Regions from separate parts of the Homo sapiens genome. Here region 2 is linked to region 1. Evidence: promoter capture Hi-C in 16 types of primary human blood cells and fetal thymus (Javierre and others, 2016). All regions are on one chromosome and are shown on one strand. The core of a region is centred on a gene start or on the middle of the fragment in contact, and the rest is flanking DNA. Distances in the headings are between cores, read along the strand shown.

Evidence for each region. The method cuts DNA at HindIII sites, captures the fragments that hold promoters and counts their contacts. A CHiCAGO score of 5 or more calls a contact.
Region 2: a contact is called between a fragment that was not itself captured here and the fragment with the promoter of AP3B2 in region 1, in 1 of 17 cell types (naive CD8 T cells). The highest score is 5.6, in naive CD8 T cells.

What each region holds. Positions count from the first base shown.
Region 1 is chr15:82,708,512-82,711,190 of GRCh38, forward strand. AP3B2 (adaptor related protein complex 3 subunit beta 2) reads right to left here and starts at 1,364. Exons shown (of 27, transcript NM_001278512.2): 1 at 1,083-1,364. The coding sequence starts at 1,195. It also overlaps the pseudogene LOC338963. RefSeq lists silencers at 888-1,147, 1,368-1,417. The HindIII fragment of the contact is 2,125 bases long and covers 1-1,962 here.
Region 2 is chr15:82,670,477-82,673,155 of GRCh38, forward strand. The region is part of intron 14 of AP3B2 (adaptor related protein complex 3 subunit beta 2); the gene reads right to left. The region is part of intron 3 of CPEB1-AS1 (CPEB1 antisense RNA 1); the gene reads left to right. Among named protein-coding and RNA genes, the nearest start is that of CPEB1-AS1, 24 kb to the left of the region's middle. The HindIII fragment of the contact is 8,602 bases long and covers 1-2,679 here.

The DNA of each region.
Region 1 (2,679 bases), core at 114-2,613:
GGTCTAGGCCACAATCATGCCAGGCCTGTGAACTTCAAGACCCACCTCCCTTGTCTCTTGTTCAATCTGGCCCACCTCCAATCTCTTCTCCACAATGCAGCAGCCTGACGTCCTTCTAAAATATAAATCTGATTATGTCGCCTGCTTAGAATCCTTCAGGAGTCCTCCCCACCCTCTTTTCTGGTCAGTCCAGTGGCTCACACAGATTGTGGCCTGGCTCTCAACCTTCCTGAAAGCCCTTTCCTCTGCCTGGAACATACCTCACGCTCCTGTCTTCCTTCTCTCCGGCGCCAGAGACTAGGTCCTCTCCCTGCTCCCACTGCCCCCATTACACTCGACTGTCCCTGACTGCTTCTTCATCTGTGCTCCCCTCTAGAGCATCGTGAGGACAAGAAGGGTCTCATGTTCACAGTTGTATTCCGTGACTAGTTCAGGACTCGACACAGTTGGCTTTTCATAAATGCTTGTTGCAGAATTTACGAATAAACAAATGAAGAAACAAACGAACGAATCAAAGGTGGGGGAGGGTGTGAAGGTGGAGCTGAACTACAGGGGCAATGCCAGGAGCAGGGATGTGAGGGTCAGATGGAGATGGGGACCAGAGGGAGGGGAAATGAATTTGCAGCAGGGCCAAGCTGGGAGGCTGTGCAAGTACATCCAGGGCCCGCCTTCCTGAAGAGGCCCCAGGCTCAAGCTCAAGTTCGCTGACTCAGACCCCTCCCCCACATTTTTGGGAAGCCAACCCGCCTAGCACGAAAAAGGAAGGGAACCCCTAACGCAACGCCGCAAACCGGAGAAACACCTGGAACCGGAGGGTTTCTCCTCTCGAAACTGAGCTGGCCCATCCCCCGCCAGCCCCTATCTGCCCCCCTCCGCGTCCTAGGCCGGCCCCTGGAGCCGGGGTGCCAGCGCTGCCCGCGCTGGGCCGGGGCTCCAGGCCGCAGGAGGGGGCCGGGCGGGCTTCCGGTCGGCGCGGCCGGGGCGGGGCCGGCGCTGGGGCCGGGCGCTGTCCATGGTGCCCGCGCGCCTCGCCCGGTCCCCGGCCCCAACCCTCCCGCGAGCTTCCTGGCGGGCTCCCTCACCGCTTGTAGTCGGAGGAGAAGATGCCGCCGCTCGCGGGGTCGTGGCCGTACTCGGGCTCCCCGGGGCCAGCGGAGCCGCCCTTGTCTTCGCTGTAGGCGGGGGCGGCCGACATGGGGCGGCCAGGGAGACTTCGCCGAGGAGGAGGTTGCGGGGCCGGAGGCCGGCTGGAGCGGAGGAAGGGAAGGCGGGCCGGTCCGGTCCGGGCTGGCGAAGGCGGCGGCGCGGCAGGGGTTCAGCAGAGGCTGCAGTGTGCAGCGGCGGAGGCTGCGCGCGGATTTCTCAATCAGGGCCGCGCGCTGAGGTCTTAAAGGCACCGGCGCCAGCCGAGCGGAGGGCGTGTCCGCGAGGAGGCGACAGGGGCGGTGCGTCAGGGCCTGGCCCCGCCCATCCCTAGGAAATGCCCTCTTCAGGGCGTCTTCTGCCCTTTAAAGCGACTTGGCTCGTCTCCAGATCTAAAGGTGGGCGAGTCTGCTGGACGGACGCTGGGACCGTCTTGCAGGGGATGTGGAATAGCTGCCCCCACCCCCGACCACCTGGCCTCGGCGGGACGGGCCTCTGGGGCTCCGCTCTCCCCAGACGCACGCGCGGATGCTCACCCACGCCGTGGAGGGAAAGCGGGAACTGGAAAGAAGGCTGTGCCCGCAGGCTGGGGGTTCTAGAGCGGGAAGGGGTCACCGCACCCGAGGACCGGCCTCAGATACCTAAGGACGCTCCCTTTCCCGCCCCACCTTTCCTACAAAATCTGGCTTGGCAGCAGGAAGCCGAGGAGCTTCCTGGAGGTGGCGGAATTTAAGGAATTAAGGTCAGGGAGCTCCGAGGAGCCCTTGGGGGCTTAGAGAGATGGGAAACAGGATACAGAGGACGGTGAACATCTAATTAAGCTTTGGAAAGTAGTTTAATGAATCTTTCTGAAGCCTCCACGTCCACCCAGGAGGGCCAAGGTCATGCTTAATCCGGGGACACGTCCACGTCCATTGACACCTGAAAAGGAAGAGAAGGGTCTGGTGTGACCACCAGGGCTCCTGAGTCATGTGAGCCCTCCAGTTCAGCTCCCGAGCCCGAGTGACCCCTAGGCCCAAGGAAGGAAGGCTTGGATCCGATGGAAAGTAGTGAATTGGGCTGGGGGAAGAGGTAGGATCCAGTTGGGCATCAGTTGAGGTGGCTGGAGTCTTTTAGCTGGGCATGGGGACTGGAGGAGTTCCTAAGGCCTGAGTCTTGGTCTGTAACTAGCATCCCGAAGTCTCCATGGGCAGAATTGGCGGGCCTACCTGGGAAGGAGTGGGGCCCAGAAAGGTGGAGCTTGGCTCAGTAGAAAAGTTCTATTGGGGGTAATTCTACTGGGGTAAGGTTCTATTGGGGTAATGAGAAGGTTCTGTTGGGATAACCTAGACAAGTGGGTGGGTCCGCTTGGTTCCGGTGGCTTTGTGCCTGCCAGAGAAAAGTGGATCTTGAATTTGGAGAAAACTGGCCTGGGTGGGGAGTGGGAAGAGAAGGGCCTGGATTTTGCAGTTGCGCGTTTATAAGGCGCTTTGGCTAGTCTGCTCAGGAGGTGGGATGGGTCCTGTGCAGGTAGCTGGGCCACGCTCACCGACCTGC
Region 2 (2,679 bases), core at 53-2,552, 38 kb before region 1:
GCGCTGGGAAAACGGGATATCCACATGCAGAACAATAAAACCAGACCCCTATCTCTCACCATATGCAAAAATCAAATCATAGTGGATTAAAAACTTAAATCTAACACTTCAAACTATGAAACTAATAAAAGAAAACATTAGAGAAATTCTCCAGGACATTGTACTGGGCAAAGATTTCTTGAGTGATACCCCACAAGCACGGGCAACCAAAGCAAAAGTAGACAAATGGGATCACATCAAGTTACAAAGGTTCTGCACAGCAAAGGAATCAACAAAGAGACAAGCCACAGAATAGGAGGAAAAAATTTGCAAACTACCCATCTGACAAGGGATTAATAACCAGAATACGTAAGGAGATCAAATAACTCAATAGGAAAAAAAAATTCAATAATCCAATTTAAAAATGGGCAAAAGAGCTGAATAGACATTTCTCAAAAGAAGACATACAGATAGCAAACACGTATATGAAAAGGTGATCAACATCATTGAGCATCAGAGAAATGCAAATCAAAACTACAATGAAAGGCCAGGCACGGGTGGCTCATGCCTGTAATCCCAGTACTTTGGGAGGCTGAGGCAGGCGGATCACCTGAGATCAGGAGTTGAGACCAGCCTGACCAACACAGCGAAACCCCATCTTTACTAAAAGTACAGAAATTAACGGGGCGTGGTGACGCACGCCTGTAGTCCCAGCTACTCAGGAGGCTGAGGCAGGAGAATCACTTGAACCACAGAGGCAGAGGTTGCAGTGAGCCAAGATCGCACCACTGCACACTCCAGCCTGGGTGACAGAGCAAGACTCCGTCTCAAAAAACAAAACAAAACAAAAAAAGATATATCATCTCACCCCAAGTAGGCTTATATCCAAAAGATAGGCAATAACAAATGCTGACAAGAACATGGAGAAAAGGCAACCCTTGTACACTGTTAGTGGAAATGTCTGGAGAACAGTTTGGAGGTTCCTTAAAAAACTAAACATAGGCCGGGCACGGTGGCTCACACCTGTAATCCCAGCACTTTGGGAGGCCGAGGTGGGTGGATCGCGAGGTCAAGAGATCAAGACCATCCTGGCCAACATGGTGAAACCCTGTCTCTACTAAAAATACAAAAAATTAGCTAGGCGTGGTGGCAGGCACCTGTAATCTCAGCTACTTGGGAGGCTGAGGCAGAAGAAGAATCACTTGCACCCAGGAGGCAGAGGTTGCAGTGAGGCAAGATCACGCCATTGCACTCCAGCCTGGGAAAAAAGAGTGAAACACCATCTCAAAAAAAAACACTACAAATAGGCCAGGTGCAGTGGCTCACGCCTGTAATCCCAGCACTTTGGGAGGCCGAGTCGGGCAGATCACTTGCGGCCAGGAGTTCAAGACCAGCCTGGCCAACATGGTGAAACCCCATCTCTACTAAAAATATGAAAATTAGCCAGACTTGGTGGCGGGCGCCTGTAATCCCAGCTACTCAGGAGGCTGAGGCAGGAGAATCGTTTGAACCTGGGAGGCGGAGGTTGCAGTGAGCTGAGATCATGCCATTGCACTCCAGCCTGGGTGACAGTGCAAGACTCCATCTCAAACAAACAAACAAAAACTAAAAATAGTGCTACCATATGATCCAGCAATCCCAATGCTATGTATATACCCAAAAGTAAGGAAATCAACATATTGAAGTTATATCTGCACACCTACGTTTATTGCAGCACTGTTCACCATAGCCAAGATTTGAAAGCAACTTAAGTGTCTATCAACAGACAAATAGATAAAGAAAATACGGTACATATGCACAATGCAGTACTATAAAAAAAGAATAAAAAAGAATGAGATCCTGTCATTTGCAACAACATGGATAGAACTAGAGGTCATTATTTTAAGTGAAATAAGCCAAGCACAGAAAAACAAACTTCACATGTTCTCACTTATTTGTGAGGGCTAAAAATTAAAAGAATTGAGCTCATGGAGTTGGAGAGTAGAATAATGGTTACCAGAGGCTGAGAAGGGTAGTGGGTGGGGGAAGTGGGGATAGTTAATGGGTACAAAATTATAGTTAGATAGAATGTGTAAGATCTAGTATTTGACAGCACAACAGGGTGACTACAGTCAACAATAATTTATTATACATTTATAAATAACTAAGAGAGTGTAATTTGATTGTTTGTAACACAAAAGATAAATGCTTGAGAGGATGGATACCCCATTCCCTGATGTGATTGTTATGCATTATATGCCTGTATCAAAATATCTCACATACCCCATAAATATATACACCTACTATGTACCCATAAAAATTAAAAAATAAAAAGAAGACGGTCTTGCTAGCAGACTGGCTCTAGAGACTTTCTCCCTTGTGGCTTTGGAGAAATTAAGCATCCGTGTTGGGAGGCCCCTATGGCAATGAGCTAAGGACGGCCTCTAGAAGGCAAGGGCAGCCCCCAGCTGACAGCCAGCAAGAAGCCAGGGCCACAATCCTACAACTGCAAGGAAGTGGATCGTGGCACCATGTGACTTGGAAGTGGACCTTTCCCCAGTACAGCCTCCAGATAAAAACTCAGCCTTGGCTGACACCTCAGTTGTAGCCTTGCATAAGATCCAACTAAGCCATACCTGAATTCTCGACCCATAGACACTGAGAAAATAAACGTGTGTTGTTTGAAGCCACCAAATTTATAGTAATTTATTATGTAGCAGA